7 separate regions of the Homo sapiens genome follow, and regions 1, 2, 4, 5, 6 and 7 are each linked to region 3. Evidence: promoter capture Hi-C in 16 types of primary human blood cells and fetal thymus (Javierre and others, 2016). All regions are on one chromosome and are shown on one strand. Each heading gives the region's core, a stretch centred on a gene start or on the middle of the fragment in contact. The rest is flanking DNA. Distances are from core to core; before and after follow the strand shown.

Region 1 (3,714 bases), core at 824-3,323, 540 kb before region 3:
ACTAGTCCTACAGTCACACTACCTGCCATGTGTTTATGGACTTAGATAGGTTAAGACTGTCTTGCAACATCATAGACTTGCCACATTAAAGTACTCTTACATTGGCTGATTAGGGGAAAATGCAGATGGTGTCATTTCCTCCCAGGCACCTTCCCTAAGCTACCAGGGACTGTAGGCCACTTCTTCTTATGTGTTGCCATCCATGGTCCTTTGTATGCCTATTCTGTAATACTTATAGTATTGCAGTATTACACTGTGCTGTGTGTGTGCATGTGTGCACATGTAAGTATGTGTGTATTTCTTGCTATCTGTGAATCTTGCAATGGCATAAACTAAATCTTATTCATTACATTACACACTCACAGCTTGGCAAATATTAATAGATGGTCACTAAGTGTTTAATGAACAAGTGAATGGATGAATGAATCAACAAAGTAGCAAGGCTTTATTGGTGGACCAAGATGCGATATCCATCCATGGTCACAAGATGGCATTACGGCTCTCCACAGTCCAACCCACACCAGAGCTACCAGTTGCAAAAACAGAAATACTTTATGGAGGTAGGATTACCTCAGGATTCAGAAAGTTCCAATCGTGCCAAAGAGTTAGCAAAGATATATCTTTTCCTATCAAATCTTCATGACACTATTTTTGAACTGGAATATTCATAAAAAGTATTTAATCAAAACTATGAGATTGAAGGGATGATCTGTAATTTTTTTCCCTTTTACATGTAGATCAGTATGATTTTTTAACCTCAAGGATGGAAATGGAAGAAAACTGTTTACCCTAGGAAACAGTTTAGTTTACCAAGTTTTCTGATGGCTATTCTTTAAAAAAATAATTATATTATATTACTCCGTTCCTATGATAGAAGCTGAGCCTATCATTGTGACCTTAAGGTTCAGGAAGTTTCAGATAACTTCTTGTTTGAATATCACTGACTTACTCTTTGAACCAGGGAGGTTTTTGGCATGCAAGCTCTTAGAACTCAACCCAAAGGCTATTTCAGACATTAGACACTAGAAAGAAAATTCCAGGGACTGAAATATGAAACAAGCTTACTTCATTGAATTTTATGGCAGGGGTAGAAACGATTAGAAAAGATCTGGAAAAAAATTAGTACAGAACTGCCTGTGTCATATAATAATTTCTAAATAACATTTTAGAAAGTCTTAAATGTGTAATTCATTACAGATAATTGAACTTAATTAAAGGTGTGTTATCTCTTAAGAGGTTAGAACATTTTAATAGAAAAATTAAGATGGCACTAACATCATATATAAAACGTAATTCTAAAGATATATTATGTAAAATCATATATCAATATATTTCCAAATACTGCTGTAAAATATATTTTTAAATAAATAAAGTTTAATTACTGAACAGTATATACAAAGATCTACTGCATATGTCAACATAAATAAATGAGACCCTCCCTTTAAGGAATGCTAAAATATTATAGGTATGTTGGTTAAAGGAAAACTCTAAAATGAATAACAAAGGGCCTATTTATTTTATTCTTAGACTTGTGTGTGTGACACTTAACAATATAAACTACATTCCTATAGTTTCCTGCCAAACAGTTTCTCCTTTCTAGTTCTCAAACAGCATAATAGCAATGGTAGGTCACTGGGCACCTACTTCACAGCATTATCAATACTAATAATATTACCATGCTGTGGAAACACACCAATATATTAACGTAATCAATATGTGGCCAAGTACATGTGTTGTCACTACAATCACTTGTTCTGAAGAGGCTCAGTCATAAAAAGTTAATAGAAACCCTCTGTGTATGAACTTAAATCATTTTTAATCCTTAATACTTTCTGCCTTTTATGAAATAAGAAAGTTAAATGAGTGCATTGATTCTAAAAGTGCTGTGTTTTAGTAACATTAGCTGTGAAATAAGCAAACACATTAAGGTCAAAATTGTTTCCTTCTATGTGTGTGCACAATGATTTAGAGGAAAAATCCCATCACATTTCTTAAGAATTAGGCTATACCTGCAGAAGATGATTATGCAATGAAGATAACATTTCCCCCCCTAGTCTTGAAGAAGGCCCAGAAGCTGCTATTTAGAAGTCTAATCCTTGTTTAGACTCATGATAAATATGCAGACTCTTCCAGGTGAAGAGAACAAGGAGGGTCTAGAGGCCTGGTTATTGGGATCCTTTAGGAATTGTGTCTAATGCCAGGAAACTTTTCAGAACTACTCCCAATACTTTTCAACATTGCTTTTCATGGTGGATCAAGGCTGAGACTTTGACTTAAACAAAAAACAAGAATTCTTGTATTAGAGACAACCCCTTTATCAGTACTTGGTATTTGGTGTGCTATTATTGAAAAAAGAGGGGTAAAGAAGTGTATTCTGAAGTAAAGGTAACAAGAGTATGCCCTGACAGAGACAATGTGGTTGCTGGCAGATTTGCCAGACAAATTCTGACACCTGGGATACTGGGTTCTCTAACTGACACCATAACTTCTATACAGTTTTCCTAACACAACTTAAGACTGTTATTTTTTTCTATTTTGCATTGAGTTATCTAAATGACTGCAGAAGAAATTCACAAAATCTAAAGAACTTTATGTTTGCTAGGTATAAACTTGCGCTACCTTTGTACAGAATTATTCTGTCCTTCATAAAAGCCATCTTTACTATTTATTAAAATGTAAGTTTCTGTGATTTCTTTTAAATATGCCCCCAAGTTTACCTAGTTCACAAATAAACAGATAATCTAATCATGAAACCTAAACTTAAAGGAGTCTGGCAAAAGCCAGCTTACCAGCAGTAGTCCAGCAGGTGTGGAGGAAGCACTGGGATGTATATGTGTTGCCAATACATTGGGTATAGAAGAGCAGCTGATCCATGGATACAGGCAGTTAACTGAAATTTGTAAAAGGATAACAAAAATAAGTAGCTGCTGACCTTCCAAACAAAAAGCAATGTTCAATGTATCAACAATGAACAGTAATCACAGAACAATTTACATAACTACATAAATCACATTGTCTTTATCACTTCTACATGTAAAAAGTCTTACATCTCAGAGGCCCCTCTGAAACATATATAAACAGCAAAAGAAGCTTCTTGGGAATCATGTAGATAGTTATAATCATCTGAAAATACCGAGTTTGGGATTGAAAACTTAGAACATAAGTAAAAGTAAAACTGAAAAATTAGGTGTGCATCTTAGAAAAATTGTAGGAAATTACAATTTGTACAGCATAGTTTGTGTATCACTCAGATTAATATAAGATGATTAAATATGGAAAGGAAGAGAGGCTGAAAGCTCCTGAGGGATATCATTAGGGCAAATTGCCAAAGAATGAAACATGAGCCAGTTAGGAGAGTCTGGAAGCTGCAATAATATCAGGGGACTTGAATGTTCGACAGTTGGAGCTTCAGTAATGTGTGAACTGCGGGTTACGGTATCAAGAGACTCTGTTCACTGACACATAGAATGTCACTATTGACCAGCAAACTGCCCAAGCTTGACAGCTGTACTACAGGAAGCCAAGTATATCATAATTTCATATTTAAACTGTTCATTCCAGATTAACATTTTGTTTCCTAGCTTTATATCACAACAGCTGTAATTACACTGTTGCTATTTTAAAGGTAATTGCCATTTTAATTGTTTTGTTTTGGTAAGCAGTTAATTAAACATTTTTTAGTACTTAACAAAAGGATATCACTTTTTTCTCCCA
Region 2 (3,815 bases), core at 558-3,057, 780 kb after region 3:
CTGGATAACTTGTTTTCATCTAATATTTTCACCATTCGAATAATAAATGTCTTTTAAAAAAATCTTTGACTCTTTGCAGTAATTAATTAAGATAATTATTTGAGTCAAGAATTTTTCAAAAAGAAAAAAATTCTGGGAACTTAGATGCCCACTTTTAATACATACGTAATTCGCTGAGCTATACTGAATATGGAGCTCACGTTCTATTCTTGATTTTTTTTACTGGTCCAAGTTCAAATAAAATTTACATAAAAATATTTTCTTTATAAAATGACTATACAGATAATGAACCAAGAATATTATATAGTGAATATTTTCATGGTAAATTTAAAAAGCATATGTATCTTCCAAAAATAATGTTTTTTTAAATAACAAGAAAAATTAATTTAGTACAACCATTCTTTCATCTTAATTCAACCAATATTTTATTTTTTAACCAATAAAGTGCTTACTAGACAGTTGAAACTGTGTAAGCGAATAATAACTTAAAAGAATTACTTGTGATAAAATGATAGAAAAAGCCAACTCAAATAATTTTCATTGAAGACAAATCTTGCAGCTATATTAATATTAATAAAAATTAAATGCTTTTGATTAGTCTAGATTGGCTTGTAATGGTAAAACACAAAGACAAAACTGAGGCAGTGAGCCTCACAATGCCTCTACTGATTTCTCTACTGGCCCTTCCTCTGCACATGGTCAATTAGAATTGAAAATCCTGTGCTGATTTCATTCGCTGGAATTTTTAAGCAGGTCAGGAAGAAAGATGTTATTGAAAGGAAAAGTCTCATCTAAATAAGAAAGGAGCACGTGGCCATCTGGTCTTAGCTATACATATAAAAAGTTATTTCAGCTGAACTGCAGTCTTGATGTTTAAAAAGATGTGCCAGAAATCAAACCAAAATCTGTTTACGGTAAAATATCCCAAATGTTTCTTTTTAAACTTTCAAATATGCAATACACAGTTCATTTCCTATCTGTGATTCATGAGCCCATTTGACCCCAGCGCCTCACTGAGCTTGACTGAGTTTCACTCAGTAGAACATTCAATCATTTTTAGAACACTTTTCCTTCATAGAGTGTCAACAAGACAGTGGATCTTTTGAAAATTGTGAAAATAACTTTGATAGTTTTCACTCAAATTAATTTTGAGTATTGTCGTCATGTAGGATTGCAAGAATAAAATTTGAAACATAAAGCAGCCAAACCAGTTTCCCTTGTTTTCTCATCGCAACTTGAGGTTCCTGTGCATTCTCTGCACAGTGCTCAGGTATCTACTCACAATAATTTCAGGCCCTATGCCTAAAGGCTAAGTTAAAAAAAATTCTCTTTTCATGAAGAGAAATTTTAAGTGTTGAGTCTTCTTTTGCAAATCATTTTCATGGTAGTAAGAAACAGAGATGGTTTTAAAAATCACATTTTATACTGTTTGTCAAATTAGAGTCATATCTTTTGATATTCTTCTTTGACATGAGGTATTTGTGGTAATTATAACATCAATACATTAATTCATCCAATATCTGATAATGCCCTTCTGGTAGTATAGACATAGCTAGTTGATATCGCAATCTGAATTTTATTGTATTGAAGTACATTAGTAGTCTTCAAGAACTCTTATTATAAAGTGACAACAATTATTTGGGGTCAGAAGACTATATTCAAATACATTATATATATATATACATATATATATATACTAAATATGCTACATGCATGTAAGAGACATACATGATCATAATATCAGCACATGCTAAACAACGATGTAGATTTAAGCTAAGTCTTCAGATAAATACTTGGATTAAAATATTCTAATATATGAAACAAAAGCCTCTTGACATATCTTTGACATAAAATGCCCACTGGTTGTTTTTGTATATCTACTATGTTTGTTCTGCCATTTCAAATAAATCATTGCCATTGTGTAAGAAGAATAAACTGTACTATAGTAAATTGTTCTTTCTCCGTTATGCTCTGAAAAACCATTTGTTCTTGAATTGGCGTTACGTAGTTCAACTATTTCAATCAAGTCCATTATCTTCTTGTCTTTGAAAGATGCCTTTTCAGTAACCTGTACCCAATGGGCAATGTCATGTATTGTTTTTTGAAAGTAGGTAAAATTTAAACACAACTATTTGCCCATTTTAATCTTTGATAAGGAAATTATATAATTAATCATCAATCTTCCACTATATGTTGGAAGAACTGTTTATGTCAAAATTACAGAGTTAGGCCAAGAATTTCTTAACGAAGTTATTTATTAGTTCATAGTGGAGTCTTACCCTATAGACTGTCATCTAACTTGTGTAGCTTGTTTTCTCTAAGTACAAAATGTGTCAATTCTTTAGCTACATACTTTTCTTAACAATAGTAACATGAAAGCAGAAAAAGAACAAAACATTTTTTCATTTGTTTTAAAACAGTCACAAAATACATTGGCAAAATGAATCTTATTAATTTGTTGACATATACGTAGTGCTGTTTATACATATATGCTTTGAAATTCCTTTCAGATTAATTGCTTTTTAGTACGCAAGAATGAAGAAGTATTAAGAGCAAATTCCAAAATTTTAAAACTCATGTATCAGATACGTGGTATGTAAAAACTGGTAAGTATAGCAGTCATTCTATTCTAATGAAGATTAATTTAAATTACACATCAAAACTTGGTAGTTAAGGGGTAGAATGTATACAGAGTTGTTCTATATCTACCTCTCAAATCTGGCAATATGTTTTGGTAAAAGTATTAAACTTTATTGGAGTGAAATAAAATAATGTACTGAAATGTGTGCATTAATAAAAATCTGAGCACATGTTTGGTGAGTAACTATCCAGTATAAGACCCATAAAACAGACTTGAAAATAAATACAAACCCTGAACTAGCTCACACGAAAGTTAATTCAACTACTATCTAATCCATAGATATACCCTTATAAAAGCACATGAGAGAGCATTACTTCTAAATCATTGGTACAAAACTGTTCTCTCCTAAAGAAATAAGTTAAAAGTAAAAAGGATTTAATTGTTACAAAATGTTAAGTGGCGAATAAAAAACACCAAGTCATAATAAATTGAAGTATTGTAGCATTTTTATCCAACTTGATTTCAAAATGCTCACCATTTCTACATCCTATTTATATCATTGAAATTCAGCCACCTTTCAAATGTTCAAACAGCATATTAATAAGGCTTCCTAGAACCAGGAAACTCTGACTACATCTATCTTGATAAACATACCCATCCTGCCCCATAAACACATCTTCAAAAGAAAGATAGCTGCGAATAAAATAGTCCTTTCCTGTGGGTGTCGGTTAACCCCACGAGCACGTGAACTTCCTATGGGCACACACCCAACATACATTAGCGATTAGGTGATTGAAAATGTTGCCCACAAAGGCAAAATTTTATATATGATGACATCACCAGCTAACCTGGATTTCTCTGTGATATAATGATATAATTTCCTGGTTGAGTGTGTGCATCTTGAGATAGAGAAAGAGAAAAGAGAGCGAGTATGTGTGTATGTATGTGTGTGTGTGAGGAGAGAGAGAGAGAAAGATGCTTAAAGAACAGCATCATCAGAAATGGTATATAACCTTCTGCAAGGTTTGCAAGAATCTTTCGACAGACCTTTGACTTGTTCCAGATTTCATGCAGCATAAGTTCATTCAAACATGCATTCCCCACACAAACAAATTACATTATGTTTAGTTAGCACACTATTAGTTCCTAAAATATTCTGATAAGATCTGTTGAGATGAGATTTCTACACCAAATGAGGCATGTGCATCTGTATGATGTGGTGCGGGAGTTGCAA
Region 3 (4,001 bases), core at 842-3,341:
ATCTCACCATTTTTACCACCTGCACTCTGGTCTGTCATCAATGTATTTTACCTGGATCATTACAATAGTCTTCTAACATCTAGTTGCTCTTAGGCTCAATCTGTTCTCCACAGTGCAGCTCTTCTCTCCCAACCCAAATCAGATTTGGTCACTCCTCCAATGGCTCTCCTTTTCATTCAGAATAAATTTTAAAGGTTACAAGATTCTACAACTATACCCTTCTTGTACCCTACTCCCTCTTCTGATTTAGTCAGCTGCTTTCCCACCGCTCACTGAATTCTAGCCTACACTGACCTCCTGCCTATTTCTCAAACATGCCAAGCCCACTTCCACTTAGGGTCTTTGCATTTGCTGATCCTTCTGTGTAAAATATTCTAACCCTGGGTAGCCAAATGGCTAATTTCTCACTTCCTTAGTTCTCTGCTCAAATGTCAGAGAGGCATTCCCAGACAAACATATTTAAAATAGCATCCTCCCTCCCCATGTCTCCCTACCCTGCTTTATTTTTCTATGACTCACCATCTGGCATAGTAGGTATTTATTGGCTTTTTTTTTTTTTTGGCCTTTCCGACTACAATATAAGCTCTATGACAGCAGGCACTGTATATCTCGGTGAGCTGTTGTATCCTCATTCCTTAGAACATTGCCTAGCCCATTTATGAATATTTGTTGAGCCACATGAATCAAGGCCTCCTTTTGAGATCGTGAACGTTTTCATTTATTTATTTATTTTTTTGAGACGGATTTTCGCTCTTTCACCCACGCTGGAGTGAAGTAACGCGATCTCTGCTCACTGCAACCTCCTCCCCGCCTCGGGTTCAAGCGATTCTTTTGCCTCAGCCTCCCCAGTAGCTGGGATTATAGACTCCTGCCACCACGCTCGGCTAGTTTTTGTATTTTTAGTAGAGACAGGGTTTCGCCATGTTGGCCAGGCTGGTCTCGAACTCCTGACCTCAGGTGATCACCCCCCCCCCCACTTGGCCTCCCAAAATGCTAGGCTTACAGCCATGAGCCACTGCGCCCGGCCATTTTTCTTTTTAAAAATAAACTTTCCAGATCTTAATTTCATGGCTTTAACATTTTAAATGTTTGAGGTATAATCTACTCATTCTTGGCTCTAATCTTTTTGTCAGGGAAGTTAAACTAGTGAGAGACCTATGAACAACAGCAACAATTTAATGAGCACGTCTTATATGCCAAGCTTTGTGGTTAAGCACTTTGCTTTATCTCACTTAATTCTAACTATGGTCCTAGAGGTTGGTATTACAACTAATCTCCTTTTACAGAGAGTTACTGAGACTTGGAGAGGTTAAATAACTTGCAGCCAGGTCACAAAATTAATCACTGAGTTGAGACGACAATTAAGGTATGGCCGACTCCATACTGCCTCCTAGCCGTCTCCTCGAGTAGTTCATGCCCTGTTAACTTAAGTCGTGAAGCTGCTGGTGTCAAAGCATTCCTTTTGCAGTTTCGTGTACTAGGGTTCTGGGTGATTTTGCACATATTTATTTCAAAGATCCTCCGTACCACACCAGGGAGTTTACCTTCTGGAATGTTGTTGAAGCCCCTGTCCTCTATGCTGGGACACTTTCATGCAACGTTTGCTTAGCCAGACTCAGGAAAACGCCTTTTTTTTTTTTTCTCATTTCCCTGCACTCCACATTAAACACAGAGGTAGTTTAAATCACCTGGTAAAAGAAGATGGGATCACAAACGCTGTGGTCCAGAAGGGAACATCAGTAAGTCGGTTCACCGCTTGCAAGTGGGGGCACTTACATATAAATGAAGAAAAAACAAGTTCTTAAAAAGCAGCCGACCCTGGGTTCTTAAAAAGCAGCCGGGGAAGAGGGCTCAGGGGACCGGACGCGGTGCCCCGCACCACGCTAGGCCTGACAACCGGAAGAGAGGGGCCAGGAGGGGCTCCTCCAGAGCGACTTCGGCTCCAGTAGGGAAACCGCCGAGGCTCCCCCAGCTCCAGGGAGCGCCGGGGACGCAGGCGGGAAGCCTCCATCGGGCAGCCGGCCTGGACTCACGACGCGGGGTGGGGCCGGCGCCCGCCCCGCCCCTCTCCTCGGGGATGCCGGGATGTTTACACTCCTGACAGCGGCGGCAGCAGGAGGAGGATCGGGAGTCGCGGGAGGATGGGCCGCCGCTAGGCTCGCACTCCGGACGCGCCTCGCAGTGCGCAGGGTGGGTGCCCCGCGCCTGCAGCGTCCGCCGGGGCGGCGCGGCGGGAGGTGGCCGACAGGCTCCGGGCCTCGCAGCCTCAGCCCCCGGCCCAGCGCGCTTTCCGACGGCGGCGCCGCGCCGAGCCACCCGCCCGCCCAAGGTCTCTCGCGGGCGGGAGAACGGAAAACTCCCAACTTCCTGGTGAGTCGCTGCCCAGGGTTCAGGCGCCCGGACCGGGCAGCTCCTGCCGGGAGGGGCCGCCTGCGGGAGTCGGGCCGGGAGAGGGAGGTCGGGACCGCGCGGGGCGGCCTCCGGGATACCCTCGCTCGGGGTAGGTGGGGCGGGGCGCGCTGCGCTCGAGGCGGATGGGGGTTTCGGTCTTGTTCGTTGGCAGCGGTGGGAGGGGGCGGCAGGAAACTTCATACCTGGCCCCGGCTCTAGAGGCCCGAGGCCGCCAAGGGCGCCGCGGTAACTAAGAAACTCCGTGGCCACGGCGGCGGCGGCAACAGGTCTTTGGTTTCGGGACCCGAGGAACTTAAGCGAAGTCCCGCCTTCCGGCGGATGCTCATTGGCGACGTCGGTTATTTATCTCTCGCGGATTGGTGAAGTCCGTCTGTCAGGATTCGGCAGCAGCCCGACTTAGGAAAGTGAAGTGCGCTGGGAGAGAGTGGGTGGTGGGAGCCGGCAGATAGGGGAGAATCCGAAGTGGCTTCAGAAGTACAGGGAGCGTGAGAGGTCTGTCGGAGAATGAACTTGGGAGAGACTCGGGATTACAAAATGTCGGAGAGAGGGATTGCGAGGCAATAGCGAACATTGCTGGTGATGGTGGCAATGGAAAAGAAATTGAAAACTGAGGCCAAAGTCAGAGAAGGGTAGCCAAAGGAAAACAGAGAAAAGTGACAAGACCGTATGACCGCAGAACAGTGTAAGGAAGCGAGCACAACCTAGAGGATGCTGCCTTGAGAGCTAAAGAACTTCTGTTGCCTCTGTTACACTGTAGGCCTTCACTCCTAAAACCGCAGCATCCTCTATTTAGTCTTGCACTGGGAGCGTACTGGGGTCGCGGAGAGATGATGTATCGTGTTCTCACCTTGCTGTAGTCCTCACTGGGGAGAAATGCTAAAAAATATACTTAGTTTACAGTAAGATACATGTTACTGTCCTTGCGCAATTCTGGTGACTGAACTGAAAATCAGAAATACACAGAAATAAAATGATTATTCTCCTTTGAGGTTACTGAGCTCAAGGATGCAATTGAAAACACCACATTTCCATAGTTTGTAGAGCCTAATGTACCCATCATAATGGGAACCACTGTTTCTAGTTCCTCCTCCAAGGAATTTACAGTTTCAAGGCTATGCACACTCCCTCCAGGCGACAGCAGTATGTCTTGTCAGGTTGCATTAGAGAATTAAAGTACAGAGTATGTGTATTATAAATATGTTCTGTTCAGGACCTTGAGCTGCTGGTGGTGTGGTCGAAGAATGGCATAGTCCTTGCACTCAAAAGCTACAGTATGTTTGGGACAACCGGTCAAACCCTGAAAACGGTGAACAGTAAAACAGGAGATACAGTTAACCCTCTAATGCTTTGTGGCAACTCTTGTTGAATGGCCGCTGAGTATTCTTGGTTTGTAACACTTGGTGATGGCCAAGTGCTCTTGAAACAGCTAACTTAAAATCTCAGCAGTTATTTTATTTCCAGAGGAAGGAATTCTCTCTCCCTCGGCGAGATCCAGTCCACAGCTTGCTTCACTCTTAGAACAGCGGCATCCTCTATTTGGTCTCGCACGGGGAACTTGCTGGGGTAGGGGAGAGGTGTTAGAGCTTTGA
Region 4 (3,933 bases), core at 780-3,279, 580 kb after region 3:
CATGGATCATTCTCAGGGACATACCTTATGTTATGCTACAAAACAAGTCTTACAAAATTAAAAAAAAATTATATAAACTTTTCTTTGACTACAGTAGAACTAGAAATCAATAACAAGAATAAGTTTGGAAACTATACAAACTCATGGAGAGTGAACAATATATTCCTCAATGACCACTGATTCAATGAGGAAATCACTAAGGAAATTTTAAAATTTTTCAAAACAAATGAAAATGGAAACACAACAAACCAAATCCTGTGTGATACAGTGAAAGCAGTACTAAGAGAAAAGTTTGTAAGAGTAAGCACCTACATTAAAAAAGAAAAATTTCAAATAAACAACATAATGATACATTTCAAAGAACTAGAAAAGCAAGAGCAAACTGAACTGTAAATTAGAAGAAAAAATAATAAAGATCAAAGTAGAAATAAATGAAACTGAAATAAAAAAATACAAAGCATCAATGAAATAAAATGTTGTTTTTAAAAAGAGAAAATTGACAGGCCAGGTGCAGTGGCTCATGCCTGTAATCCCAGTACTTTAAGAGGACAAGTCGGGTGTATCATTTGAGGTCAGGAGTTTGAGACCAGCCTGGCCAATATGGTGAAACCCCGTCTCTACTAAAAATACAAAAAAATATTAGCCAGGTGTGGTGGCATGCACCTGTAATCCCAGTTACTTGGGAGACTGAGGCAGTAGAATCACTTGAACCTGGGAAGCCGAGGTTGCAGTGAGCCAAGATTGCATCATTACACTCAAGCCTGGGCTTTGCAGTGAGACTTTATCTCAAAAAAAAAGATAAAATTGACAAACCTTTAGTCAGACTAAGGAAAAAAGAGTGGAGACTCAAATGCGTACAGTCAGAGATGAAAAAAGAGACATTGCCACTGATACTTCAGAAATTTAAAAGATTATGAGATGCTACTATGAGCAGTTATATGCTAATGAATTGGAAAACTTAGAAGAAATGGATAAATTCCTAGATACATGCAACCTATCAAGATTGTAAAATGTCTCTTGATAGAGCTGTTTAAAAAACTACAAGTCTTTACATGGGGGTTAAGATTTTCTCTTAATTTCATTTATTGTAGGGCTTTTAGTAATCTAAATTTTATTTTTGTATAGTCTAGCTATATTTTCTACAGGAGAAACAGACTTAGTCTATATATCTCCGTAGGTCTTCTTAGGTTTCCATGGTATTACTAATTGTTATGTCTATAGAGTGCTGTGAAACAATCCTATCAATAGTTTCTGGCCAAACACTTGTTTGACTAAGCCACAAAGGCACCTGCTCCATAGATATGAGGATATATTTCTAGATTGATGCCTATCTGGCTACATTCTGTAGTCTGGGTTTACTGGTGTTAATTAACTCAGTTTGTGTGTTTCTTTTGTTATCTAAATGTAGATGGTTCTTTATACCTGGCCATAGAATTATGACTTATGCATCTTATGGTGGTTACCTTGAAATTAGAACAAACCTGAGCTCTAATCTGGGGCTGACTTTCCTCAGTCGTCTCTCTACATTCTGTGTTGACAATGCTACCATGTGAAGGCCTAAGGAATACAATGTTCATCAAATAATTAATCAGACTTTGCTCACATATGAATTAGTTCTGTTTGCTGGCCTATCAAGCAGAAGTATTTTAAACAGTTGTGAGAATGACCTTTACCAAATCATTTTAAACACAAATCCAAAAAGCTTCCACCCATGCACCCCACTTTTATGGTGTATGTTTATTTTGGGTTTTTTTTGCTTGACAGCATGCAAGTTCCTAGAAATTTTGGTTATACTTTTAAAGAAAGTATTACCTTACTTACCTTACTGTTAAGTTATTGCTTACAGGGTAGTACATGCAAGTCCTGCACAATATCTTAACTACTAGTTATTGATTAGAAAGGAAAACACAACCATGGTTGAGAAAATATATAAGACACCTGAGGAAACTATGAACTCTTTTGAGTAGTTTATGTTTACACGAGGAGACTTTGTACTGGTACTCCCTTCCACTTATTTATGTTTCATAGTTTGCTTTAAAAAAATCATCTCAAAGAAAATATTATCTCTTGACTAGAAAAAAGAAAAAGCAACTGGAAGAGAGGTGACTCACATTCAGTTCACCAGCTGGCCAGACCACGGGGTGCCTGAGGATCCTCACTTGCTCCTCAAACTGAGAAGGAGAGTGAATGCCTTCAGCAATTTCTTCAGTGGTCCCATTGTGGTGCACTGCAGGTAGGAAAAACGAACAAAAAAAAAAAACAACAACAAAAAAACTCCAACAGAATCCACCTGCCTAGGGCTGTTAGAGACATCTTTCCCTTTGGCAATTGCTATTTTGGGAAACAACCTATGGGAGAAGCTTAGATTCTTATATTGGCTTCACACCTGACAGCTTTTCCATGATCATGCCTCTGCTTTTTTTTGCTTGGTTTGCCAGTGCTGGTGTTGGGCGCACAGGAACCTATATCGGAATTGATGCCATGCTAGAAGGCCTGGAAGCCGAGAACAAAGTGGATGTTTATGGTTATGTTGTCAAGCTAAGGCGACAGAGATGCCTGATGGTTCAAGTAGAGGTATGTTCTAACCTTTAGTGATTATTCTCACTTTGGTTTTTTGGACTTAAATCTTTTCCAAGTGATAATAATGATATTTTTTAAAAATCCAAATTCTTCACAACCTCAAACAGTAGATGATTTCCTGAAAACTAAAACGTGGTAATCACCAGAAATACTTAGAAGCATTTTTCATTAGTGCCTAAAAGTACTGTGGAAGAAAGATGACCACAAAATATATAATTTTTAAAATAATGAACTACTGTTAACATATATCAGATTGGCAAAAAAAGTAAAAATGCTGAAAATAGATTTGGCATCATCTCATAAAATTAAACTGAAGAGACAGAATAGTATAGTAATCAACAGCTGGTTTTAGAAACTACACTTACAGGTTTCAAATCTTGCTTTTAATTATTAATACGAGGGTGAGTGGTATTGTTTATTAAGTAATTTTAGTCTGACTGCACCTCAGTTAAGTCATCTGTAAAATGGAGACAATGATAATACCTCACAGACTTATAACCACAAAAGTAATACAAATAAAGCACTTAAACAAGTCCCTGGCCCATGCTATGCATTTGGTGATTGTAAGTGATGGTAATTACTGAAAATGTCTGTATTTGACCCAGCAAAATCACATATATGCATATACCCAAGAGAAGCATCAACTAGAAACATTTGCAAGAATGTGCATTGCATTCAGCATTGTCAAAATAGCAAAAAAAAAAAAAAAAAAAAAGTGAAATACATATCAATGAAAGAATGGAAACACCGTAAATATGTATCAATAGGGGAATAGGAAGACAAAATGTGGACATGTGAACTCTCTGTACAACAAATGCTATGTTGTGGTAGAAAGCAATGATCTAGGTTTGTGTCTGTCTGTTTGGAGAGATGCTCAGATGAAAACAATGAGTGAGTAAAGCTGCCATACGAAACATTCAAGATATAATTTATGTGATTTAAAAAAAACATGAAAATGTACAATGCTTGTGATTACAGATACATAGATAGCAGTGTAGAAACATAAAAACAAATTGTTAACCAGGTAAAAAGAAATTATTTACAGTGGAAAATAAAGTACAGTGGAAAGACAGTGCCAAACTCAGGGAACTAAAGGTGGCGGTTAAAGAGGATTATCAGAAGTATACCATTTCCTTGAAAATACTGGATTCAAACAAAATAAGCAGTAAAGAGTAGTTAAATCTGGGTTTGGCCCATTGGATTACAAAAAAATAATTTTCTTATTAAAAGAATACTTTTCTTATTTTAAGTTCTAAAAACTATAAAAAAAGGTTTTCTAAGGAATAACAACTTGCTTTTTTATCTCTTGAATATACTGTGAAATTTATTATAGTTTTACATTCAGTAATTTGG
Region 5 (4,131 bases), core at 1,052-3,551, 550 kb after region 3:
CTTGCAAGCCCACAATTCTCCTCAAATTCTTCCAACCCAAAATCAAGATGAGCAGAGATCTCTTAGCTTACACAAAGCACATGTTCTCCCAATTATTCAACTTAAATGCCTACACTCACACAAGATACTGCTAAATTTGTTGACAGAGCAATTTGTTACCCTGGATCTAGTAGATGTGCAAAGAGCTTACAAAAGTTAATCTAGAGAATGAAGCAGTCTTTGCATTTTCTCTGACTTTTTTTTATGTAAATGAAAAGTATAAACTTCGTACTATGGGGGTTATAATTATATAAATTAACATTGAGATTAATCAAAATATGAAGACCTTTAAAATATTTTTGGCTGTGTGAATCTTCAGCCATGTTGCCATACCGCCAATTAGATGCGTACCTAAAAGTCTTAATATTGTTAATTGTATTTATTGGGTATATTTATGAAAAATTTTATAGAATTAGCTCATTCCTTTATAATGCTTTAAGTTTTGAAATGAAAACCTGTACTAGGCAAATCCTTCATATTCTGTTAAATCTAACTAGATAGACTTTATGAAGTAGAAGTATTGTAAATCAGCTTTCCCAAAAATGACATGGCAGATATTCTAAAGCAAAATTTTAATAATTTACATTTTTTTTCTCCATTACAGCTACTACTCCATCTAAGCCAACATGTGGTAAGTTTATTTACTTAGAATCAGCATACCTCACTTTGGAATAGCACTTTAATTACATCTTTCTTTATTCCAAGCTTTCAGGACCCACTAGTAAGCTAAACTCACTGGCTCTAATTTCTCACCGATGACTAGTCTCAAATTAGTAAAAAATTACTAGCTACACATGGACATAGAGTTGGGAATGATAGACACTGGGAAATACAAGAGCGATGATGGAGGGAGGAAGACAAGGGTTGGGAAACTACCTATATTGGGAACTGTGCCTACTTGCTGGGCGTCGAATTCAATTTTACTGCAAACCTCAGCATCCTGCAATATACCTTTGTAACAAACTTGCACATATAACCCTGGAATCCAAAATAAAAGTTGAAAACTAAGTTTTCCAGTTAGACAACTTTGGTAAAGCCACTTAATTTAATTTAGGTATTTGAAAAAAAAATGGAATAACAGCAAGTTTGTTGGTGAGGGGGAGGGGGACAAGGATTCAGTGTGATGATAAATATAAAATGTGGATAATACCTTCAAAGCTTATCAAGAAGAAAAATCTCTCTTTTTCTCTCTCTTTCTGTCTTGCTTGTTAGGGGCTGGCTCAAAGCAGATACTTGAAAACAGTTTGTCTCTCTTTTTTTTTTTCTCATTTTCTTCCTTGATTCTCAGTTGAAGCAAAGCGGTTCTTCATGGTCAGGGCTTATTCCTCCATTCATTTCTAAGTCTAACCACTGGAGTCACTGCCTTCAGTAGCTTTCCATACATTTAGTGTAAAGAGTGGCCTTCATATGTCTGTTTAATTAATATGATCTTTTGTAATCCGGTTGTCATTCATCTCTCCTCCCGCCTCTTGAATCATTGCCTCCTTATGTTCTTCACTTAAGTAATATGGAACCACTTTCAGTTTTCTTTTCTTTCTTTCTTTCATTCGTTAGTTCTTTCTTTCTTTTTTTTTTTTTTTTCTCACTCTGTTGCCCGGGCTGGAGTGCAGTGGTACAATCTCAGCTTACTGCAACCTCTGCCTCCTGGGTTCAAGTGATTCTCCTGCCTCAGCCTCCCAAGTAGCTGGGACTATAGGCACATGCCACCGAGCCCAGCTGATTTTTGTATTTTTAGTAGAGATTGGGATTCACCATGTTGCCCACGCTGGTCTTGAACTCCTGACCTCAGGTGATCAACCTGACTCGGCCTTCCAAAATGCTAGGATTACAGGCATGATCCACCACGCCTGGCCCACTTACAGATTTGTAAACACATACTGTTCCTTCCTGCCTCTGTGGCCACTCCTGCTCTTCCTCTACAATTGGAATTCTGCTCCAACCTCATCCCCCAAACCCCATGTCTATTTTTCTATTTCCTGCTCATATTTTAAAACACAAACTAAGTCACTTTCTCTGGAAATCCTGTCCTATACCTCCAAATGGAACAGATCTCTCTCTTTCTAGTGCCACATTATTTCCTGCATAATCTTATTTTAGAGGTTTGTATGTCTCCTGCAATTCATGCTTGTGTCTGCCTCCACACTGGATTATACATTTCTAAAAGCTGATTATATCTAACTTGCCTTTGAATTCCTAGTATTGGTGACCATGTCTTACATATGACAAGGGCTTAATAATTTTTGTTGAATAAAAACAAATGAATAAATTTATATTTGTTGTAAAGATATTTTTATCAGTCAGCAGAAATTGTTGACACTAAACAAAGGTGCTTTGGAGGTATATTATCAATCATAATTTTACCCAAGTTAAGGAAAGAATGAGGGCTTCTGATCCCTGAGTAATTAATGCCCCACATATATCAAGAAACAGGTGGTTAATAACTACGTTTTAGAAAACAAGAAAATTATAAAGCAAGAATAAATTTCTCAAATGCATCATTTATTTGTGCATCAAGTCAACAAGTAACTAGTGAGTTCCCATTAATGATACATATTATGCATACTCCTGAATTTACAGTGATAATAAAAATAGCCTAGACTTTGCTCTCATGGAAGTTCCAAGTCCAGCTAGGAAGACAGACACTTATCTGGTAATCATCCAAATATAAATTTACAAGCTGAGGTCCTTGTTAGGGCAGTAAAGCACAGATAATTACGAAAAAAATGATATGGAGGCACCTAATGTGTTTTTTCTTTTTCATGTTTTTTGGGGATATTTGGTTAGTTGATTTGATATTTTGGCATTTGCATTAATGTAGTTTTATTTATTCTGGAAAAATAACACTCAATGTTCTATTTTCTTTTAGATGAAAAATATGCAAACATCACTGTGGATTACTTATATAACAAGGAAACTAAATTATTTACAGCAAAGCTAAATGTTAATGAGAATGTGGAATGTGGAAACAATACTTGCACAAACAATGAGGTGCATAACCTTACAGAATGTAAAAATGCGTCTGTTTCCATATCTCATAATTCATGTACTGCTCCTGATAAGACATTAATATTAGATGTGCCACCAGGTAAATATCAATTTATTTCTTTTAATAAATTTATAAAAACAGTACACTTTTGTGTGTGGTGTTCTCCAGTGGTCACAGGAGCTAGTCTGGTGAGAGAACAGGGCTGAGGGAAAGGAAATTCCTTGGAAACAAGTGGGTGAACTTTCTGCTGTCTTAACCAAGTAAAAATGATAGAGTCAAATAAGCCTTCTGTTTACATCCATTAATCACCACTTCTACTTATTTAACAGGGAGATGTTTATGTGCACTAAATATAGTTTATCCTGCTAAGTGATTGTCTGCAAGCTTTCTTTATTCTCCTCTACTTAAATGAAGTATTAATTATATATGTACATATATTTATTCTTTTAAGTACAAATTTATCTGAAATATATTAGGGAGAAACATAAAGGATTTGATGTGTATGGGAAGAACCAAAATACATTCATAAAAAGGAAGGTTATGGTCATGTTAGTGAGATCAAGTTGGTTTTGTCAGCTAAGCTACTGCTTGGAAAGAGGAGGGGGTGACAGGCGTCGGGCAGACTCTGGGGAAGCATCTCTTAGCCAAATGCATTCTGGAAAAGGGATTCCAGAGCCGTGTAATTTTTTTAAAAAGTCATATCATTTAATAATTCAAGACTATTAATAAATTTGTTAACATTTAAATATGTTAACATCAAATGTATTTTGAAAATAAAATCCATTTAATTTATTCATTTTCCCTAAATATTACTGAGATAAATTACCAATTAAACACAGAAGATGACAATACTTAAAAATGCATTTCCCAATAGGGAAACTCCCAATACACTTTATAATAATCATTCAATTAAAAGTAAGTAAAGAGTAAACAAAAAATTTAAGATAAAAACAAAAATACAAAATGGAATGAGTGTTTTTTAAAATGTGCGAAAGCTACAATTTTATCAATATGTTTGCTTGCATTTCATTTTTTAACGTGGTATAACTTATAAATGAAACACTACCAAAATATATGGTGCTAAAAATAATAAAGTAAATAATAAA
Region 6 (3,579 bases), core at 198-2,697, 640 kb before region 3:
GCTTGTGAGTGGCAAAAAGGAAGGAATGAGTAGTAAAATATGCTCTTATAACCCCTACTCGGAATGTGTAGTGAGGTTTCCATAAGTTCAGGGATTAGAAATGTATCTGGGGCCTCTAACTGTCTAAAACTGGGGCCTATCACTTTATCACTATAAGTTTAAGGTACATGAGTTAAACAGAAATCTGCAGAGTAGCCTAAGAACAAAGCCACCACTCACAGCAATATTTCTGTGGGAAAAATACATTTCATGTACTCTCTCCAAAACTCACAAAATATGATACAATCCTTTGTTTCTGAAGACAAGCCATTAGTATTACACTGAGCTCTGTATATGCTTGGCTTTATACCAGCTAGCAGGTCCTGCATTTAAGTTTTTGTTTACAAATGAAACAAACTGAAACAAAGTCTATGAGGAAGCTGAGACTTTATATTGCTATCAATTAAAATCACTGCTACTTAAGAACTAATACAGGAAGATTAGATAATACATACTCAACAGTGTTTATATTTGTAGAGTACTTTGCAAAACACTCTCACATACACACAGATACTACGAAGTTAAATTAAGTCAAGCCTTTGACACTAAACAGCTCTAAGTCTAATGGACCCTACAATAAATCTGGAGTTATTCCAAGAGAAGTATATAATTTGCCCAAGCACACACACTTTATCAAAACTAGGAACCAGAAAACAGAACTTATGTCTTTCCCTATTGTGTTGCAAGTCCCTTGTTCATTTTCTTCCACAAAAGTTACCTTTATATTCTGTAGCTGTCTGCATATACTATAGCATCTCTATTTTTTAAGTCCAACTTTTTTTATGAAGCTACTGCTTTTTCCACAATCAAACATCTACGTCATGATATAAGCTTCACAGATACATTTACATTTTAGTTTCATGTTTCCTAGCTAGACAAGCATTCTATCCATTTCTATATAGGGATGTTAAACAGTATATCTTATGATAAGTTTTAACACTACAATTAAATTATAAACAGAAGTAAAACTGATTAATATGTTGTTTTCCTTTCCTTGGGTGTTGACCTTTGTGTTATCCATACTTATTATACATGTACTTATGTACTTAAAATTATATACATATATGAAATAAGCTTCTTCTAATTAATAGTCATTGAATATATATCAACCTGCATTAGGAACTGCAGTTTATATATAAGAAATAACAACGTCCAAACAGGTGATAGAATATGTCAATTGCTTGATGACTTCTACATAATTGTGTTAAGGTCACAAAAAAAGAGAAAAAATTAAGGAGAAAGATAATCATAATGTAATCGACATTTAAGACAGAGAAGAATAGCAGTAGAGATAATCTGGGTCCATACAAGCTCAGCAGCTGATGGTGTTCTGGTGGGTTGCGACTCTGAAGCACAGTGCTTTCAGGGGAAATAAAGGACAGTTTTCCCCATGTTCGGAACATAACAACACAGGGAAAAAAGGCCTGGTCACAATCTTAAAAATAAAGGTCTTTTGTGGGGAAATGGTAGTAAGTAAGTTTAGACTGCAGAAAACATATTGTGTATTCTTAAGGGTGCCAATACCCAGCCAGTAACAGTACATCTTCATCTAGGTTAACAAATCACAGACATATCATTATTAAAAACATGCATATTAACTATGCAGGACCTGAAATGTAAATGACTATGATAGAGAAAAATAATCTGAACCCACACAATAAAAATAAAAAATATATACATTATTTTAACACAATTGGGTATAGTGACTTATCCTTCAACATCCAGCTCAAATGTAGCCTCTGGAAAGCTTTATCTGCTAAGTGTTCCTCTGTATGGCCACATATTTGGTAAACATTTGGCAAATGTACTATTAATCTCATTGTGTTATCTGCTCGTGTGTCTGCCTGCACCACTACACTCAGAGCTCTCTATAAGTGGGATTCAAATTTCATACTTCTTTGTGCCCTTTGCACCCTACTGTATGCCTTCCTAGCATGGAAGACAGTAGTAGCATGAATGAGGATGTGCTTACTGGGTGTTTGTGGATTAAAGAGATGCTAGAAATTCAGAGAATAATTAAATGTGGCTGTTGCCTTACTTGGGGGAAGTACAGAATAGCAGCTTACAGAAGTTTCTCAATAACTATTTGCTGATGAAAAGAAAAAAGGAATAAATGACATTCACTTGCCTTTCATTCATTAGGTCCTGCAAGTTCAAGGTCTGCACCCTAGGGTTCCCTTTGTTCTAACCAAAGGTATCACCATGGCCTTCTTCAACCCCTTATATTTGTCCTGATTTGTCCTAGCACAGGACCTTTGCATATGATTCCTTTACAAGAAACACTTTTCTCTTACATTTATCCTCTTTGCACTGTCTTTGTCTATACACATCGATTTTCATTCAAAAATACGTAGTAACTGCCTACCCCATATTGAGTCTCTATTATTCTGTCTTGTAGAATGTTACAGTCTGTAAATTGCTGACAGAGTGATCTTTTTAAAAGGCAAACCTAATCATGCTATACTCCTATTTAAAGAAATCCTTCAATGGCCCCTTACAGTCTTCAGGATAAAGCTCATACTACTTGCCTTGCACAGAGGGATCTGGCTATGGCAGCCTCTCTGGAGGCTTCACCTGCCATAAAGATGTTTGCTCCACACTACTAAACCGTCTCCTTCTCTTGTATACTTCTCAATGTCTTCTGCCTCTGTCCTACACGTGGGCTGACATGCTACCAAAACTTCTTTCTTCCTGGCTCTTCCCCCCAGCCTCCCCATGTTTTGTTTGTTTGTTTGTTTGTTTTTTAGTTATCCTTCAAACCTTGGCTCAAGAGTTTATCTTTCCAGGAAACACTCCCTTGCTCACCAATTAATTTATATGCCATTACATTCTCTCTCCCACCGTACAGTAGGCTTTTGAGGGCAGACCCCTTGCCTTGCTAATTTATCTCTTGTGCCCTCAGAATCTAGCACATTGTGTCATACATACTAGTTCCAGGAAAACTGCAAAAGACTCTGAAAGGAGCAAAATGATTATGAGGTGTCTGACCAGTGGAATTATGAATGCTGTCTAGAAGGTCCTGTGGGGGTTATCAAGTTTTGTAGTGCTCTGCATCTTTCATTGTCTTCAACTATCTTGCCAGGATATAATTGGACAAATTGTATAACCAACGCCTTATCTTAAGTGGCAGTAATGACAATCCACTAGAATGGAACAAAGAGGTTGTTGTATTTATGCAGTTAATGCCCACAAAACCCTCCCAGGAAAACTTACATGCTGTCTGCCTGAGAAAGTCCAACCTTATTGGGGTAAGGAAGGCCTTTTTCTAGAAAACCAGGAACCTTAGCAAATTTGGAGAATCTCAAGAGGAACTCACCTTAATTTACAGATGTTTCAGGTAAACCATATGGTGGCAAGTTTTCTTGGGCTTAGTTGCTTAGCTTCAAGATAGCAAATAGCAGAGACTATATAGGCTCAATCTGAGGTTTCTTATGAAAATTTACATAAGTAAGGAAATTCTGAAGGCTTAGCTAGTCAATACTGCATGGCTCTAGATTTACAATGCAAACTCAAGAAGGCTTAAATGGTTAATTAGCTTTC
Region 7 (3,860 bases), core at 1,288-3,787, 570 kb after region 3:
ATATATATATATAAACAATATTGTATACTGCTCTTTCTAGAGTTACTAACATTACCAATTGATCTGAGCCTATGGAGGAAGGAGACCTAGTACTCTACTTTGGGCTTTCTCTACTGGTTAACATTGTAAATAGAATTATTTAAGCCTGTATGTACTTTGTTGTCAGCAACTTCTAGGTCTTTCTATCTTTGCCACTTCTAGTTCTTCCTCTCTTACATATGTTACATATGCACATATGCATGTGCACAATCACTGGTATGAATGCAAAGTCAAAAGAGAAAATATAAAAACAGCTTATTTTCCAAACTGCTTTACTAAGCCCTCTGCAAAGTTTTAGTTCTTTCTGCTCAGATTTATGAAATAAAAACTCCCTGTGTTAAATGTCAAAAAAGTCCAGCAAGATAGCTTTGATTTTATTTCCACATTACCTTTTTCTTTTATAATATCTTTATAATAAAAATGACTTCATTGACTCTTTCCTATTAAATTGTAAATAATTTATAGCAGTCATAGACTCAGCTGAACATTCACACTCACATCTTAATAGGCCAGATCTGAAACATTTCACCTGGAAAGACACAGAACAAAAAGCACAGCATGCTAGCAAGGGAGCCTGGCAGTGGGAATCCTTGCAGCGGGAATCCTTGCAGCAGTGCACACAGCAATCCAGCTACTTTTCTTATGACACTCTCAAAGACAACTGAGATATGAGAGAATGAGACCACATGTGTAGGTGTAGGAGCTGCATTCCAAAAGGAATCAGTATCTCTTATACTATTTCCATGGGCATAGCTTCCAGACATGCCAACAGGGGTGTGCTCAGTTATGAGCGGGCACTGCACTCAGGGAAACCCAAAGCTGGTACTTCCCATGAGGACAATAGAGTTCACATATAGCACTCCCTGTTCAGGTGTAGTTTAGCAATCAAGGGTCATTTTGCCATTAGCAATGTTGTCTGGTAACCAGCTAATATTCCACTTTTATCAGGTTTCCAGGTCAACGGAGCCAAAAAATTAGCCCTCATCTTTTTCCACAAAGGAGACAACATTGTATTCACTCTCTGCTCACAATATCATTATCCTAAGAGATAAATAATATAGTTTCTTTTAAAATAGTGATATCTGTTCCAGGAAAGGACTTGGGCTGTGAATTGCTAGGGTACAGCTACTAGGGATGTGTTGTTGGGTTTCCCCGGCATAATATTCCACCACCTGTACTTTGACATCATTGTCAATTGAACTCCTGGGGACCCTTTCTTCTTGCTCTGATCTGGACTCTCACATGCCATCTTGAAATATTCCCCCATCAGTTTTCTGGTTTAGATTTGCTGTATCACACATAGTTATTTTTTTTTCTGTCTGAGTTCACTGATATATGTTCTCTAGTGTAAGAAAAATAATTCTAATTCTCCCATACAAAAAAAATTTTTATTCTGCTCTGGCACTTGTTCAGTGTATCGACTTGGTATAAAATTCTAAGTTAAAAATTTTAGAATTTAAAAATTATTTCTGTCTTATTTTCCTGAATCCAATTTTACTTTCTAATTCCATCCTGATTCTCTCTCTCTCTCTCTCTCTCTCTCTTTTTTTGGTCTGTTCCCAAGTTTTCCTCCCCTGGAAATGCTAGGTTTCTGTCTTTATTCTTGGTCTTACCTGAATTTTTTGTTTGTTTTGTTTTGTTTGTTTTTGTTTTTGTTTTTAGAGGGAGTTTCGCTCTTGTTGCCCAGGCTGGAGTGCAGTGGCATAATCTCGGCTCACTGCAACTTCTGCCTCCTGGGTTCAAGTGATTCTCCTGCTTCAGCTTCCTGAGTAGCTGGGATTACAGGCAGGCACCACCACACCTGGCTAATTTTTGTATTTTTAGTAGAGAAGGGATTTCACCATGTTGGTTAGGCTAGTCTTGAACTCTTGATCTCAAATGATCCACCTGCCTTGGCCTCCCAAAGTGCTGGGATTACAGGTGTGATCCACTGTGCCTGGCCCTGAATCTTTTTCATTCATTTTTTCTGGATGCTATTGACCTTTGTAACCTGAAGATTTATATATCTGAGAATTCTTTGCTCCATTTTCTTCCCATAGTCTTTGGTTGAGTCTATTAGTCATAAAACTCATAAGTTGACTTATTATTTTGGCATTCCCCTTTGGTGTTGATGTTTTCCTTAAAAGCTTGGTTCTTATTGGTAGTCTAGTCATAGTCACAGTGAGACAACAGGAAAGGTTGATTAGATGTTCTGTGGTCCTTAGAAGATCTTGGTGACTGAGGAGATTTCCTATGATATTGCTGATTTATTTTTTTCTGATATCATTCATTATCACCAAAAACTAATTAATCCCCAGAAATTAATCTCCAGAATTACCCTACTCCTTGTTGTGTGGTAAAGTGTGAAAAAGTGGTTCTTCTCACAGTAGGACAGGAAGATAGGTGTCCAACTATTGCATATGTGGACAATTACATTGTCCTCCTAATTTTAGTCCTGTGCCTCATCCCTTCCCTGTACTGAGCCTGACTTTATTCTCAGTCTCTCACTGCTTTCATTTAATTTTCCTTTTGTCTTCTCCTCCCTGGTAGTATTTTTTCAAGAAGATATTTTTTGTTATTGTTGTTGTTGTTGTTATTGTTTTTGTAAATAGACATTTGACTTCCATGTTCTGACCCATGATTCACATTTACTGCATATGTCACTTTCAAACCTGAGACTCAGGCATTCTGAGTAAATGGAATCTATTCCTTTGATTTAGGCTGTGGCCTCCTTTCTTTTGTTTTCTACCTTCTACAACTTGTTGAAATTGCTCTACTTCTAATTTCCCTTCTCTCATTTTCACTGTCATTATAAATCTATGGCATTTTCAGTTTTTTAATATTAGCAGGGTTCCTGGAAAGAAGGGGGAAACACATGTGTGCTTAGAATGCAAGCTTTATCTGAAGACTTGGCTATTTTATTAAGTTTGTTGAGAAAAGTCTGATGCTGCTTAATATTTTTGTAGAACTTAATCTAATTATTATGGATTGGAATGCTAACTTACAGTCATTTGCAGTTTCTTGCAAAATCTTACTTCAGAGTATTCTAGAAGTTAGATGTTGCCTCTGATGAGGTTTTTATTCACAAAATCTGGAAACAATCATGCTGATTGATATATGTATACTAGTAATCACTGGTATGGATTGACAATTTCAGTGAAAGGAATTTCAGATAGAGATAAGACAAGGAACACTTTGGGTCATTTTAGGAGCCTATTGCAATAAGAACTTCTTCCCTAAAAATGTTCACTGCAATCCACCTATATATTCACATTCATGTATCCCATCCATTTTTATATATGCCGGCAGTATAAATACCCCTTTAAAGGAGATAAAATTATTTCTATTTTATATATGAGGAAACTCAAGTTTGGATAATTTAATCTATTTGCCCTATGAGTCAAAGAAATGACAGAGCCTGAATTCAAGCTCAGGTCTTACAGTCTGTATCTGAAATTACTTTCAATATTCCTGTTTGTATGAGTTTCCAGTTACAGAAATTTTGATCATGAGATGAACTGTTTCTGGCAGCTGTTTGCTTGATAGAGTCATTTCCTTCTTTCCAGTTGTAGAAAAACTGTCTCATGCTCAAGGCCTCCACTTGCCATACAGAAAATACATCCCCTCTACTTCCTTATCACCCTACTTATTTTTTTCAGAGTATATGAAAAAATGCATAATTATTTCATTTGTTCACTTACCTTTCTTTTTTCTTTTCTTTTCTTTCCTTTTTTTTTTTTTCTTGACAGAGTCTTGCTCTGTCGTCCAGGTTGGAGTACAGTGGTGCAATCTTGGCTCACTGCAACCTCTGCCTCCTCGGTTCAAGTGATTCTCATCCCTTA

What was found. The method cuts DNA at HindIII sites, captures the fragments that hold promoters and counts their contacts. A CHiCAGO score of 5 or more calls a contact.
Region 1: a contact is called between a fragment that was not itself captured here and the fragment with the promoter of NEK7 in region 3, in 3 of 17 cell types (naive CD8 T cells, total CD8 T cells and erythroblasts). The highest score is 5.8, in naive CD8 T cells.
Region 2: a contact is called between a fragment that was not itself captured here and the fragment with the promoter of NEK7 in region 3, in 1 of 17 cell types (non-activated CD4 T cells). The highest score is 7.4, in non-activated CD4 T cells.
Region 4: a fragment that was not itself captured here is called in contact with the fragment with the promoter of NEK7 in region 3 in 2 of 17 cell types (activated CD4 T cells and neutrophils); the score reaches 6.5 in activated CD4 T cells.
Region 5: a contact is called between a fragment that was not itself captured here and the fragment with the promoter of NEK7 in region 3, in 4 of 17 cell types (total CD8 T cells, activated CD4 T cells, non-activated CD4 T cells and 1 more). The highest score is 5.3, in total CD8 T cells.
Region 6: a contact is called between a fragment that was not itself captured here and the fragment with the promoter of NEK7 in region 3, in 1 of 17 cell types (erythroblasts). The highest score is 5.5, in erythroblasts.
Region 7: a fragment that was not itself captured here is called in contact with the fragment with the promoter of NEK7 in region 3 in 5 of 17 cell types (activated CD4 T cells, naive CD8 T cells, non-activated CD4 T cells and 2 more); the score reaches 8.7 in activated CD4 T cells.

The regions. Positions count from the first base shown.
Region 1 is chr1:197,614,870-197,618,583 of GRCh38, forward strand. DENND1B (DENN domain containing 1B) reads right to left here. Exons shown (of 23, transcript NM_001195215.2): 11 at 2,790-2,890. Among named protein-coding and RNA genes, the nearest start is that of DENND1B, 160 kb to the right of the region's middle. The HindIII fragment of the contact is 2,030 bases long and covers 1,059-3,088 here.
Region 2 is chr1:198,931,704-198,935,518 of GRCh38, forward strand. All of the region lies in intron 1 of MIR181A1HG (MIR181A1 host gene), which reads right to left. Among named protein-coding and RNA genes, the nearest start is that of MIR181A1HG, 3.8 kb to the right of the region's middle. The HindIII fragment of the contact is 5,909 bases long and covers 1-3,815 here.
Region 3 is chr1:198,154,907-198,158,907 of GRCh38, forward strand. NEK7 (NIMA related kinase 7) reads left to right here and starts at 2,092. Exons shown (of 10, transcript NM_133494.3): 1 at 2,092-2,370. RefSeq lists enhancers at 1,278-1,337, 2,768-2,817 and a silencer at 1,928-2,527. The HindIII fragment of the contact is 2,805 bases long and covers 1,200-4,001 here.
Region 4 is chr1:198,739,794-198,743,726 of GRCh38, forward strand. PTPRC (protein tyrosine phosphatase receptor type C) reads left to right here. Exons shown (of 33, transcript NM_002838.5): 24 at 2,076-2,233; 25 at 2,439-2,574. Among named protein-coding and RNA genes, the nearest start is that of PTPRC-AS1, 75 kb to the left of the region's middle. The HindIII fragment of the contact is 658 bases long and covers 1,701-2,358 here.
Region 5 is chr1:198,703,829-198,707,959 of GRCh38, forward strand. PTPRC (protein tyrosine phosphatase receptor type C) reads left to right here. Exons shown (of 33, transcript NM_002838.5): 8 at 644-670; 9 at 2,906-3,124. Among named protein-coding and RNA genes, the nearest start is that of PTPRC-AS1, 39 kb to the left of the region's middle. The HindIII fragment of the contact is 2,212 bases long and covers 1,196-3,407 here.
Region 6 is chr1:197,515,166-197,518,744 of GRCh38, forward strand. The region is part of intron 20 of DENND1B (DENN domain containing 1B); the gene reads right to left. Among named protein-coding and RNA genes, the nearest start is that of CRB1, 250 kb to the left of the region's middle. The HindIII fragment of the contact is 673 bases long and covers 1,112-1,784 here.
Region 7 is chr1:198,723,121-198,726,980 of GRCh38, forward strand. The region is part of intron 15 of PTPRC (protein tyrosine phosphatase receptor type C); the gene reads left to right. Among named protein-coding and RNA genes, the nearest start is that of PTPRC-AS1, 58 kb to the left of the region's middle. The HindIII fragment of the contact is 748 bases long and covers 2,164-2,911 here.